4 separate regions of the Homo sapiens genome follow, and regions 2, 3 and 4 are each linked to region 1. Evidence: promoter capture Hi-C in 16 types of primary human blood cells and fetal thymus (Javierre and others, 2016). All regions are on one chromosome and are shown on one strand. The core of a region is centred on a gene start or on the middle of the fragment in contact, and the rest is flanking DNA. Distances in the headings are between cores, read along the strand shown. Region 1 holds the start of FAM168B (family with sequence similarity 168 member B). Region 2 overlaps UGGT1 (UDP-glucose glycoprotein glucosyltransferase 1). Region 3 overlaps UGGT1 (UDP-glucose glycoprotein glucosyltransferase 1). Region 4 overlaps UGGT1 (UDP-glucose glycoprotein glucosyltransferase 1).

What was found. Contacts are between HindIII fragments. The CHiCAGO score rates a contact against its expected background, and 5 or more counts as called.
Region 2: a fragment that was not itself captured here is called in contact with the fragment with the promoter of FAM168B in region 1 in 2 of 17 cell types (monocytes and total CD4 T cells); the score reaches 7.4 in monocytes.
Region 3: a fragment that was not itself captured here is called in contact with the fragment with the promoter of FAM168B in region 1 in 2 of 17 cell types (M1 macrophages and M0 macrophages); the score reaches 7.5 in M1 macrophages.
Region 4: a contact is called between a fragment that was not itself captured here and the fragment with the promoter of FAM168B in region 1, in 2 of 17 cell types (M2 macrophages and M0 macrophages). The highest score is 6.7, in M2 macrophages.

What each region holds. Positions count from the first base shown.
Region 1 is chr2:131,092,156-131,095,528 of GRCh38, forward strand. FAM168B (family with sequence similarity 168 member B) reads right to left here and starts at 1,305. Exons shown (of 7, transcript NM_001009993.4): 1 at 1,059-1,305. RefSeq lists a silencer at 759-1,478. The HindIII fragment of the contact is 2,381 bases long and covers 375-2,755 here.
Region 2 is chr2:128,130,138-128,133,596 of GRCh38, forward strand. UGGT1 (UDP-glucose glycoprotein glucosyltransferase 1) reads left to right here. Exons shown (of 41, transcript NM_020120.4): 14 at 3,004-3,123. Among named protein-coding and RNA genes, the nearest start is that of UGGT1, 41 kb to the left of the region's middle. The HindIII fragment of the contact is 6,166 bases long and covers 1-3,459 here.
Region 3 is chr2:128,101,133-128,104,737 of GRCh38, forward strand. It overlaps UGGT1 (UDP-glucose glycoprotein glucosyltransferase 1), which reads left to right. Exons shown (of 41, transcript NM_020120.4): 3 at 2,800-2,882. Among named protein-coding and RNA genes, the nearest start is that of UGGT1, 12 kb to the left of the region's middle. The HindIII fragment of the contact is 736 bases long and covers 1,774-2,509 here.
Region 4 is chr2:128,157,154-128,160,570 of GRCh38, forward strand. UGGT1 (UDP-glucose glycoprotein glucosyltransferase 1) reads left to right here. Exons shown (of 41, transcript NM_020120.4): 22 at 99-193; 23 at 2,361-2,567; 24 at 3,307-3,417. Among named protein-coding and RNA genes, the nearest start is that of UGGT1, 68 kb to the left of the region's middle. The HindIII fragment of the contact is 3,480 bases long and covers 1-3,417 here.

The DNA of each region.
Region 1 (3,373 bases), core at 55-2,554:
AAAAGTGCTCAATTGATCCAGGAAAAGAAACTGTCTAAGACAACTTGGGTATAATTTCCCTTTAAACTACGGAACTCCACCAAAGTAAGCCTGCTTTGTAAAGACAAAGAGAAGCAAGATCTTCACAATTTCTGCAACACTAGCTTCAAAATTAGAATAGCCTTACACTGCTCAAATCTTGGCTGTCAAAGCAAAAATAACCCACTCCTTCATCTACAAGAGCTTAAAAATGTGTCCTGTTTTTGCCAAAACCAAAAAGTTTTATTTAATCTAGAATCTTTCATCCATAGTATTTGAGAAAAGTGATCTCAAATTACACAAGGATGACCTGAAAGTTTAAGGAGTGGAAACTATATAAACCTTTTTATTTATAAAGCTTCCTTGCATGCGAAAACACTGCAAAATATTCTTGTTTGACTTTAATGATTAAACATTAACTCAAACAGCCCATGAGATGCACACTTCATGTTCACATACACTATAAAACAGAAATACCCTTATTTGTGGACGTCGTAAAGGCGCACTGCACTCTTTTTTCAAAGTTAACCCAGGCTAGGCCACGAAACGTCCTTTCTGAAGGAAATCTTAAAAATCTGTAATTTAAATCGTGCCTTTTCAAGCTGGAAGGAGAACGCTCAGATTCCGCCAAGCAAAAAAATAAAAATAAAAATTATCTTTACTTCGTGGGTAGACAAAGTGAGCAGTTACACATTGGAAATGACTATTGTCACAAAGCTCTGCCCCCGGGTTTCACGCTCGCATTCCTGACGGCTGTGACCCCGACCTTTAGGAGAACGCCCCGCGCCGCGAAGCCACCTCGGCCACCTAGGCGGCAGGCCCGCGCCGCCCGGACCGCACCTGCACGCGTACGTGTCCGGCCGAGCTCCGCCCCCGGCCCCCGCCCGGCCTTGCCCGCGGCACAAAGCGCAGCCCAGGCCGGTCCAGACGCCCAGCGACCCCGAGCCGCGGGCCGACCTTGGCGCCGCCCCGAGCCGGCCGCACAAAGCGCCGCACTTCCGGCCTGGACGCGCAGTCGCCCGCTGCCCGCCCCCACTCACCGCGCCGCGGCGGCGACCTGGGCCTCAGTGACCAGCGCACGCCGGCCCGCGGCGGGCTTGGCCGTGGGGCGAAACAAGGGGGGCGTGCCGAGGAGACCTGCTACGATAAGAGGCTGACCCTCCGAGCCCCGCGTCTCCGCCGCCTCCCGGACGCCGCGCTCCCGCTCGCTCGGCTCCGCTTGGCCCGGCCCGCCTCTCCGCAGCCCGCGCTCCCCGCCGACGCTGCGCAGCCACCGGAGCCGCCGACCTCACTTCCGCCTGAGCGCGCCGCGACGGGGGCGCGCCGGGCACGTGACTGCGCAGCGTGCTCGCTCCCGCCGGCGCCCTCGAGACGCCCGGATGGACGAGCGCGAGCGCGAGCGCGGAGTGGGCCGGTCCCAGTTGGCGAAAGGGCCGGGTGTAGCTGTAGTTTTTTTATTAACTGTCTGTGAAAAAAGTATTTAATTTATATTTTGAGATAGTCCCGCGCCGCAGAAACCTTTGTGTGTGCCCAGACGCCAGGGCGCGGATCCTCAGGCCGCACCCGGGAGTCGAGCACACCCCGGGTGACCGCCACTACGGGGTCGGAGCGGGGCGGAGCTCAGCTCACAGATTCTTTGCCAGTGCGGAGGCTGCGGGCGCCCGCTCAGGAGTGCAGATTTTAGAGAATGCAAGTCAGCGTTTCAAGTGTAGAAGTGCGGGATCATTTCTATAGACAAGAGTTCAGGGAAGTGTACTAGAATGTTAGGGGGTTTTTTGGTTTTTTTTTGAGACGGAGTTTCGCTCTTGTCACCCAGGCTGGAGTACAATGGCGCGATCTTGGCTCACTGCAACCTCCGCTTCCCGGGTTCAAGCGATTCTCCTGCCTCAGCCTCCTGAGTAATTGAGATTCCAGGCGCCCGCCACCACACCTGGCTAATTTTTGTGTTAGTAGAGACGGGGGTTTCACCATGTTGGTCAGGCTAGTCTCGAACCCGTGACCTCAGGTGATCCACCCACGTTGGCCTCCCAAAGTGCTGGGATTACAAGTGTGAGCCACCGCACCCGGCCAAATGTTAGTATTTTTATGTAAGGCTTAGTGTATAGTTACAATGATTTGGTTAGTTCAGGGTGTCTCTCTGGGGGAGGTATGTTTATTATTTCGTATTAAAGAGGTGCGTGTCTTGGTGTTTGTGTTTGGGGTGTCGTCTGGTCTGAGCTAGGTACAGGACGACAAAGGAGGGAGTTATTGCAATAAAGATTAGTGATGGAAGGGAGGAGGCCTGGCTCTGGTCTTTTTTCAGTCGTTTATGAAATAAAAACAGATGGGCGCGGTGTCTCACGCCTTTAATCCCGGCACTTATAGGAGGCCGAGGCGGGCAGATCACGAGGTCAGGAGTTCAAGACCAGCCTGGCCAACATAGTGAAACCGCGTCTCTACTAAAAATACAAAAATTAGCTGCGCGTGGTGGCGCACATCTGTAACCTTAGCTGCTCTGGAGGCTGAGGCAGGAGAATCTCTTGAACCCGGGAGGCGGAGGTTGCAGTGAGCCGAGATCGGGCCACTGCACTCCAGCCTGGGCGACAGAGGAAGACTCCGTCTCAAAAAAAAAAATAAAAATAAAATATAAATGTGATAAAAGGACAAGAAGAAAACATGGGGAAATTCCTTTTTAGTATTGGAGTAAAGAAGGCTTTTCTACATTATTACTTGAAATCCAGAAGTCATGACTATGAAAAGCTTTGGTCGGCAAAAAGCACCATAAGCAAAGTCAAAAGATAAATGATTAACAAGGAAGAAATAGTCCCAACACATGTAATAGACAAAGCTAATCTCTTTAATATTCCAAAAGCTTCCAGAAGTCAACAATAAAAAGCCCTACCACCCAATAGAAAAAGGAGAGTTCACAGCAAAGGACTAAGTCTGGCTGTTAGTCATATGAAAAATATCCAATCTCACTTCTATAAAGAAAAATGCAAGTTAAAACTCTTTGAGGTAGCAGTTTTCACTGTGATTGGCAAACATCCAAAAAATTGACAATGCTATTGGTAAGGCTGCCAGGAAGCTCGCACTCTCAGACATTGCTGGATGGGAAAGGGGATCGTCTGATGATGTGTGTCAAAATAAACGCACAAACAATGTTTCATTCAACAGCTGCACTTCTGGGAGTTTGCCTACAGAGATACTTATAGATGTGTGAAATAAAATGAGTTCACACCTATTAATTGCAGCATTGTGCATAGTAGCAAAATACTGGAAACAAACCCTAGTGTCCACACCTAGGGAAATGACTGAGTAAACTCTGGTTCATCATGCAGTGAAATAGCCTATAACTTGAAAAAGAAATGGGGAAACT
Region 2 (3,459 bases), core at 681-3,180, 3.0 Mb before region 1:
CCTAATCTTAGCTATTCGGGAGGCTGAGGCAGGAGAATTGCTTCAACCTGGGGGTGGAGGTTACAGGTAGCTGAGATCACGCCACTGCGCTCCAGTCTGGGTGACAGAGCAAGACTCCGTCACAAAAAAAAAAAAAAAAATAGAGAATGTGGGGAATAGTGCCATCTTGGGCAGTTGTGGTAAAAAATAAGGTGAGTGGAGAGCTGATCTTATTTTTTCTTGGTTTCTGTACTGCATTCATTTTAGAAAAATTTTATTTAAGAGAAATAATGTAGAATGTAGATAATCATTACTTGAATTCATACTTGGTGATATAACTTATTTTGATGAAGACATTGTTAATGTCATTTGCTTTTCTGTTAAAAGTACTTATAAAGAGTAAAAGATAATAACATCAACATGACATGTTTATGCAAACATAAAGGGACTAACAACCATAGGACCCATCATCATGCTTACTAAATGTTAACATTTAATCATTTTGTGTCAGATTTAACTGTTTTCTTGGGGGAAGAAACAGTTTTAGTTGAAGCCCTTCTTTGTCCCTTACCAACCACCCCTCTCCTTCCTGAAGTTCATATCTTTTCTCAAGTTGGTGTGCATTCCCTTGTCCCTTATTTTATCCTTTTATTTTCTATCAAATATATTTTTCTTTCTTTCTTTTGTTTTTTTAGAGATGAGTCTCACTATGTTGCCCAGGCTGGACTCAAATTCCTGCGGTCAAGCAATCCTCTTGCTTCAGCTTCCTGAATAGCTGGAACCATAGGCATGCACCACCTTACCTGACTCCTATTTAATATTCTAAAAATTTGAGGCCAGGCACAGTGGCTCACGCCTGTAATCCCAGCACTTTGGGAGGCCGAGGTGGGTGGATCATTTGAGGTGAGGAGTTCGCGACCAGCCTGGGCAACATGGTGAAACCCCATCTCTACTAAAAATACAAAAATTAGCTGGGCGTGGTGGTACACACCTGTAATCCCAGCTCCTTGGGAGGCTGAGGCAGGAGAATTGCTTGAATTCGGGAGGCAGAGGTTGCAGTGAGCCGAGATCAAGCCACTGTACTCCAGCCTGGGCGACAGAGTGAGACTCTTGTCTCAAAAAAAAAAAAAAAAAAAAAAAAAATTGGGATAATCCAGTCAGGCGCGGTGGCTCACGCCAGTAATCCCAGCACTTTGGGAGGCCGTGGTGGGCGGATCACTTTAGCTCAGGAGTTGGAGACCTGCCTGGCCAACATGGTGAAACCCTGCTGGAATGCAGGAATGCAATCATAGCTCACCACAGCCTTAAACTCCTGTGTTTGAGAGGTCCTCCTGCCTCAGCCTCCTGAACAATTGCTCTTTGTGGACATGAAGTTGTTTCTGATGTTTTGCTGTTGTAAACACTACTTTAATTAGGCTCTTTTTTCCTCTCTTTTTGTGTATACATGTGAATTTATTTGGGGTAGATATCTGGAACTAGAGTATTGTATTGTGTTGTGTTGTGTTGCATTGTGTTGCATTGCGTTGTGTTGCATTGCAGTCTCGCTCTCTTGCCAGGCTGAAGTGCAGTGGTGTGATCTCAGCTCACTGCAACTTCCGCCTCCCAGGTTCAAACGATTCTCCTGCCTCAGCCTCCCGAGTAGCTGGGACTACAGGCGCACACCACCATGCCCAGCTAATTTTTGTATTTTTAATAGAGATGGGGCTTTCACCATGTTGGCCAGGATGGTCTCAATCTCTTGATCTCATGATCTGCCCACTTTGGCCTCCCAAAGTGCTGGGATTACAGGCGTGAGCCACCACACCCGGCAGTACTGCATTTATTTTAGAAAAATTAGTACTAATATAGTCTTCAACTTTATTAGATCCAGTTCTCTAAAGTGTTTGTCCACATACCAGCATTGCATGAGAGTTCTCTTTGCTCTATATCTTTTCCTATTCTTGGTCTTGACAAACTTTCACTTTTTCTGTCTAGCGAGTATGAAATTTCATTGAGGTCTTAGCTCATAGTTCCTAGATTACAATTGAGGGTGTACACATTTCTTATGTTTATTGCCCATTTGGGTTTCCGCTGTTTATTTTTCATATTCTTTTTTTTTTTCCGATTTTTTTTTACATTTTCTTTTTTCCTTTGTTCTTAAAAAGTTTAGGGCTGGGTGCTGTGGCTCACACCTGTAATCCCAGCACTTTGGGAGGCCGAGGTGGGCGGATCACTTGAGGTCAGGAGTTCAAGACCAGCCTGGCCAACATGGCGAAACCCCACCTCTACTAAAAGTACAAAAATTCACTGGGCGTGTTGGTGGGTGCCTGTAATTCCAGCTACTCGGGGGGCTGAGGCACGAGAATCGTTTGAACCCAGGAGGCAGAGGTTTCAGTGAGCCGAGATTGCTCCACTGCACTTCAGCCTCGTCAATAGAGAGACTTCATCTCAAAAACAAAAACAAACAAACAAAAAAAATTTCGCTTCTTTCTTTTATTTTTATGTCTTCTTCATTCTTGACGCTAGTCCTTTATTGGGTTTGTAGGTTACAAATGTCTTCATCTATTCTGTGGCTTATCTTTTAGTCACTCATTTTTCCACTCGATCTTTGTATCTTTTTTGTTTGTTTTTTTGAGATAGGGTCTTGCTCTGTTGTTCAGGCTGGAGTGCAGTGGCACAATCATGGCTCATTGCAGCCTCGAACCCCTTGGGCTCAGGTGATCATCCCGCCTCAGCCTCCTGAGTGGCTGGGACAGCAGCCACCATGCCTGGCTAATTTTTATATTTTTTTGCAGAGATGGGGGTCTCATAATATTGCCCAGGCTGGTCTTGAACTCCTGGGCTCAAGTGATCCTCCTGCCTTGTCCTTCCAAAGTGCTAGGATTACAGATGTGAGCCACTCACTGCAGCCAATCTTTTTATCTTTGAAAATGGTCTTGTCTCACATGATTCTTCTTAAAATATTTTAAAGTCTTATTGATATTATTGCAGGTTTTACTAACTGGTTCCTAATGTGCATGTATCCTGTTGTGTTATTTTTTGTAGTGGGTCAACAACCTGGAGGTTGATAGCAGATATAATTCGTGGCCTTCTAGTTTACAAGAGTTGCTTCGACCCACCTTTCCTGGTGTTATTCGGCAGATCAGGAAAAACTTACATAATATGGTAAGTAAAACTTATTGTCTGGCTGTGAACTCTGTTTCTCCCTTGCCTAGTCCCTCTTTTTTTGTCATGTAGAATGGTCACTTCTCACCTTTACTAGCTGCTTCCTCCCCCACCCTTCACCAAATACTCTTCCCTGTTCACACTGGAAAGGCTTTGTAGTGTACTGACCACTTGTGGGGCTGTGGGATGTAACAGGAGCATTACAGCCCCCCTCAGAGTGTGGGGAAATGCTCATTTTTAACACGAAGGTTTAGACTATTGTTTTAGTCTTTTAATTTGTTTTTAATTTTAAAACATTTTTAATTTTTTAATTTTTATTTTTTCTAATCAGCTTTT
Region 3 (3,605 bases), core at 892-3,391, 3.0 Mb before region 1:
GCAACTCATAGAAATGAGCTATGCTTATTAGAATCCACTTAGTATTCACCTCCAGAGCTAGCAGAGCCCACCATTCTTCCTTCTTATGTCTGTGGGAGACCCTGATGTTGGATCAAGGTACTATGTCCATCTGGTTAAGGATGAAGGGTCAAAATATTTTACTACACTTTATGGCATGCCACCACCACAGATCTTTTGCCTTCCTTGCATCTATCCCTTAGGGACTAAAAATATTCCTGTTGTGTATTTTTAGATTGGACCTGATGTTTGTGAAGGAGTTGTAGCTTTGTGATTGTCTATGAAGTGATATTTATCTTTAATTGAAGTAAAACACTAAATATGTTTTCTGCAGCTGTAGCTACAGAAATATTATATAAGGAGGTATTATTAAAATCAAAACCAATAATCATTTACTGAGTGCTAAATTTTGTAATGACCCAAGAATGTAGCATGTTAGAGGTATAAATTAAATAGACATGAATTTATATTCCAGCTTTTCCATTGACTAACTCTATGTCCCTAAGAAAGTCAGTAGCATCTCTGAATGGCAGCTTCTTTATTTGAAAAACGGTTATATCTGAGGGTGGCTGTGTGGGTTTGCGGACACGAGTAAATATGCCAAGCTTAGTGACTGTAACATCGTAGAGCCTCCTTAAATATTAGTTTCTTCCCTCCTAGTTCCACATAGAAGGAAGACCAATGCTGATCTCCCGCAATAGCTTTGGAAATCTAAGAAAACAAGTTGTCACCTGATTTGTACTATCTTGTGGGCATTCATTCTGGTTGTTTGTAGTTTTTTTTGTGTTGTAGATTAAAAACTTGTCCTGGATTATGGCATTTCAAAACATTTATATATGGAGAGAATGGTATAATGTACTCTCTCTGTACCCATCATCCTGTTTTAACAATTATCAATTTAAGTACAATAACCACCATCACCACCCCCTTCTCTCCTCCCGCACTAGAATATTTTAAAGCAAATCCCAGACATCATATAGTTTGTAAAATCATAATTTTTTTTTTTTTTGGGATGGAGTTTCACTCTTGTTGCCCAGGCTGGAGTGCAATGGCACGATCTTGGCTCACTGCAACCTCCACCTCCTGGGTTCAAGCGATTCTCCTGCCTCAGCCTCCTGAGTAGCTGAGACTACAGGCGCCCGCCACCACCCTCGACTAATTTTTTGTATTTTTAGTAGAGATGGGGTTTCACCATGTTGGCCAGGCTGGTCTGGAACTCCTGACCTCAGGTGGTCCACCCACCTCAGCCTCCCAAAGTGCTGGGATTACAGGCGTGAGCCACGGCGCCTGGCCTGTAAAATCATAATTTATGCTCAGTGGAATAAGTATTATATAAGAAGCTAAAAAAACAAAAAGCAACAAAAATATGCTGTAAAAAAAGGCAGCATTTCTTTAATAATATCTTGTATTGTTATTCTCTCCTCTGGGTTGTTTCAGTGGATCTAGTAAGTAATATTAGGACTGTTCCAAGTTTAGACCTTGTAAGACCTTATGTATGCAGTGGGGTGAAAAGAATGTATGTTTCAAGAAGTTTCCCTGTAATTGTATGAAAAGCATGTATTTATTCGTGTGTGGCCTTTACTGGGAGAGTCTTAGTCTGATTGAATCTTAGTTCTCACCACACTGGTGAGTGTGTCACCTTGCCCCTCTCTGCTTATCTTGTGAATGTGCCTTTAATTAATTAATTTAGTGTTTATTTGCACATCCTGATGTATCTGTCTTAGGACTTGTTTTCTTAGACTATAAGCTATGCCAAGCTTGGTGTGGTGTCTATGTCAGTTACTAGAAAGCCTAGAAAAATACTACTTTCAAGGAGGCATTGAGAAATTTAATATATTATGATAATGGGTATTTTCAGAAACCTATTTTTAGAGAAGCTGTGCATTACCAGGAAATGTTTCTTATTTTTCCCATATTTCTGTGTCTAGCTGTGGAGTAGAGTGAGATTGTACACCCCAGTGTTCACAAGTAATGGGAAAGTCTTCCTTTGGCTAGGTAAGCTGAGATCCAGATCTGTAGTTTGCTTTAAGACAGTGAAAGATCACCACTGCATTAGTATTATGGCTCAGAGGAGAAGATAAGCAATTGACATGAATCATTCAATTACTACGTGCATTTCCTCGTAGGGGTTTTAGACTCTTGAATGAAGGGAAATTTAGACTGGCCATTATTTTAGTAGGATAAAGTCGAAAAAAATTAAGATGGCATTAAGTTCTTGGATCTGATTTTGTTAGATCAGTGCTAATTTTAAACTAAGTTTGGTGATCTTGAAAATTTGGATTTAAGAGTGTTAAAAGATTACAACATGCTGCCTTTATTCTCAGAAATTTTTCTACGGTTCATATTTTACTGTGGGAGAACTTTAGGCAAAACATATTTTTTGTTCTTTGTAAGGCCTTTCAGAAAATAAGTAAGCAGAACTAGTACTAGAATCATCAGTTCCTAATTCTTCTTCCACTACTCATAGTATTTTTGTCAATGGGGTTTCATAAGCTTTCTTTATATTGAGACTTCCCTTTTATGTTTTTATTATTCCAGGTTTCTTAAGAAATAGCTATTAAGTGAAAAAATTCATAGGCTAAGTTATTAATAACTAATAAGATAGGACTTGATTATCATTAAAAATATATATATTATACATAAAAGAGTATTATATATTATAGATTAAAAGTCAAACTATGGACATTTGGAAACTTCAAAACTTATTTTTACTCTCTTTAGTAATATAGTTTATATTAGAAAATTTTATTAAGTTGTTTTATTTCTGATCTTTTCTCCCAGTGAGTTTTTAGCAGAAGACAGTCAAGAGAAATTTTGGAATTTTGTAGAAGCCAGTCAAAATATTGGATCATCAGATCATGACGGTAAAATTGAAGCAAATGCTTCTTTGACTTTGGTGTCTGGGAAAATATTAGGAAAAAATTGTCTCTTTATAGTATGTGTGGCATGGCAGTTAATGGAAAACATTGTTGTCTTTAATGACTGGAGTTATGATGGTGGTCAGGAAGAGCCAACACAACACAAATTATTATTTTTGAAGCAATGTATACCTTTGGCTATAAGTGGTACCTTTGTTTTTTTCCCCTCTTGTTTTTGTTCTATCGTGATCCTTTATTAAAGTGCTATGTGAATATTTTGTGGAAGTACATTTCATTTTAAATCATTCAGTATTAATAACCATCTAATCTGATTCACTATTTTTGTTATGAACTACACAACTGAGCTATTATCTGTTAAGTTCATTATCATTAAGTTAGTATCATCCAGAGTGTTTTCCATTATGCCTGCCAGCCACCCACAACTTGAGTGTTAAGGTATCAAATGAATGATTATCCTGTAAAACCTCATTTGCAGTTTTTATGATGTGCTTTCACATTTTTTAAACTTCGTATAAGCTATATAGGGTGTAAACATTAATAGTTGGAGATGCTGATATGTGAGTAGTTAAAACCTTGAATATTAATTTACATTGACAGATATAGGTTATTATTATTTTTTTTTAATTTTTATTTTTTGAGATGAAGTCTTGCTTTGTTTCCAGGCTGGAGTGCAGTGGTACGATCTGGGCTCACTGCAACCTCCATCTC
Region 4 (3,417 bases), core at 463-2,962, 2.9 Mb before region 1:
TTCTTACAAATTATTTGGTCAATTTCATTTTCAGAATGTTGAAACACAGAATGTGCTTCTCTCCTCTGACTCAATTAGCTGTTTTTGTTTTTCTACAGATGATTCTTTTATTAGGCCAGTAACTTTTTGGATTGTTGGGGATTTTGATAGCCCTTCTGGACGGCAGTTACTGTATGATGCCATCAAACATCAGGCAAGTATCTATGACTTCATTTTATATTTTTGTTTGTGGCTGTAGTTGTCTTCATGGGCTTCGCTGTGCGGCTAGGATTGTTCAGTGGGAGTTGGGAGTCCTGCTTTCTTAATGCTCGAGGGAACGGAGAATTGTATCTCTAGAGATCTGCCAGCTCTCAAGAAAAGAGATCTAAGACTACAGTATCCAGGCTTTGTTGAACGGGATAGATTCTTATAGAGAAAAAAATAAATAGCGAGATCCTCATCATAGACAAGTTTTATTGCATACCTGTTCATGTTCTTGGAGCAGAGTTGCTCCAACAATTGTGTTGTGTACTGTATCGGGGAGATGGGGTCCTTACCACGACAGAGGTCTGGACATGGGGGCAGTAGCACACAGGAATGGTAGTGTGTGTGTTTAGTAGAAGTAGATCCAGATGCACTGAGGGATACACACATAGGTGTTCTGAAAAGATATGCTGCCATTAATAGTTGGGCTTGAGTGAGTGGCAATGGCAGGTGGTTGGGAAGCAGCTGATTCTTCTGGAGAGTGTCATCGTTAGAGGATGAGATGTCAAAATTCTTTTTCCTGGGCTGTTTCAGTTTGCATCTTCATCCATACCTCACAACCCTCCTCATGGTCCCCTTTCCACCCTGTACCTGGGAAGGTTTACTGAAATAAAGAAATATCCAGGTGGTTTCAGTTTTACTCATATGCCGAGTTCCTTTATTGTTCAAGGAGTGGACCAAATGCTGTGGTCAATTTGAAGTTAGAACAGGGCAGTTCTAGCTAAGGGCGATAGTTATATGTGAAAGGCACTCTAACACAAATGCGTAAATCTTCAAATGGTAGTAGGGTAGGAGAATGGGGAAGGAGAGTTGCATTTTTTAATAACTATTTTAATTGAAGTAAAATGTAGGTTCACAAGAAGTGCTCAAATCATAGGACACACAGTGTCACAAAGAGAACACACTCTTGTGACCACCACTCAGGTCAAAAAATAGAGAATTCTCAAGTTCCTGAAAGCCCTCCCACACTTGTGCCCACCCACACTTGTGCCCAGACACTACGCCTCTTCCCTCTTCTCATATTAGGGAATAGGTTTGCCTATCTTTTAGTTTATTAAAATGGAATGTTATGCAATTTCATTTGTGTTTGGTTTCTTTACCCAATCTTTTGTAAGATTTATTCATGATGTTACAAGTAGGGGTATAGAGTCCTTTTTCATTCTGTAGTATTATATCATATGGCTGTACCACAAAGTTTTATTTGTTTAAGCTATTTGAAGGACAGTTGGGTTTTTAGCTTGGTGCTATTATAAGACTGCTGCAATGAATATTCTCGTATGTCTTTTGGTACACCCAAATATAAATGTCTGTTGCTTATGTTATTGGTACAAGCCCTTTTTTGGCTTTGTGTGTCCTGGGTGTATTCTTCCACTTGGATTCTTGTCTTTTCACCCAGGGAGAGATTGAATTGTACTAGGAATGTGGGAAGGCTGTATGAATGAAGAAGGGTTTGAGGAGAGCACTGAAAACACTTCTAAAACAAGTGCGTTAGAAGAATACAAAATGTGTGGCATAAGAATATAAACTGTGTTGGGTAAAGATAGGACTCTGAGGGTCTGTAATTTATGCTATATTTACCGGGAAGGTAAGAAATGAAGTTGGAAAGGTGGGCTGGGGGCCACTTCATGTAGGGTTTTGAATGCTTGATGATGGCATTTTTAATTTTATTTTGAATGAGGAGGAGAACTATCTGAGACTTTTTTTTTTTTTTTTTTTTTAATGAGACGGAGTCTTACTCTGTCATCCAGGCTGGAGTGCAGTGGTGTGATCTTGGCTCAGTGCAACCTCCACCTCCCGAGTTCAAGCGATTCTCCTGCCACAGCCTTGCGAGTAGCTGGAATTACAGGCGCCCACCACCATGCCTGGCTAATCTTTTGTATTTTTAGTAGAGACAGAGTTTCACTCTGTTGGCCAGGCTGGTCTCGAACTCCTGATCTCGTGGTCCGCCCGCTTTGGCTTTCCAAAGTGCTGGGATTACAGGCATGAGCCACTGCGCCCGGCCTGAGACTTTTAAGAGAGATATTATTTGCTACTTATTGAACATGACTGATGTTAATGCTGCTTTTTAAGTTCAAAAATATCTACAATATGACTCCCGTTTCCCATTTTGTGAACAGAAATCCAGTAACAATGTTAGAATAAGCATGATCAATAATCCTGCCAAAGAGATAAGCTATGAGAACACTCAGATCTCCAGAGCAATCTGGGCAGCTCTCCAAACTCAGACTTCCAACGCTGCTAAGAACTTCATCACCAAAATGGCCAAGGAGGGGGCTGCAGAGGCCCTGGCTGCAGGAGCTGACATTGCGGAGTTCTCTGTTGGGGTAAGGCTCTGAGCCTCTCATGAGGCTGCCCCATTTTGTCTGCCACGGAAGCTCACCCACTGCAGCTTACGTGTCCGGTTCATGATCACGATTTGTCATTTTAGTCCTGAGTCTCAGGGAATTTTTTTTTTTAATTTGGAAGTTTCCCTTTATTACTTTTAACCTTGCCTAGCTTTCATGTGGTGCATGATTTGAGTTTTTGTGTGTTTTAAGTATGGAGCCATTTGTTATGCACAGTTTTTAAGAGAGACAATATGGCTTATTTATAGAGCAAAAAACGGAGATTTGAACCACTTATAGGTTCAAGGCTTATATGTTCTTGATGTGTTTCCAGAATAAGCCTGTGTTTATTCATTTATATTTTATGTTACTTATTTTTTTGACACAGTTTTGTAGTTTTTAAATTTTTTACAGAATGATGAGTATATACTATTTGACGTTTGAGTTAGGAAAACAGGCTGTCACTGGAAATTAGCAGGATTTAAAAATGCAGAGTAAAGGAATGATGAATAGTCTGCTAGTCGAACAAATCACAGGAAAAGATAAGGAAATAGCAGTTACTCTAAGTAGTAGGGAGATGGCGGGGAGACTGGAGAATTGACACATCTTAATGTTAATTATGAAAATTAGTTATTACTTTCCAGGGAAAGAAATTTTTATGGTTTATTCACTGTGTTTATTTGTTTATATGGTTTGCTTAGTAACGACTATTTTTCCTTAATAATGATTACTTTCCTAGGGAATGGATTTCAGTCTTTTTAAAGAGGTCTTTGAGTCTTCCAAAATGGATTTCATTTTGTCTCATGCCGTGTACTGCAGGGATGTTCTGAAGCTGAAGAAGGGACAGAGG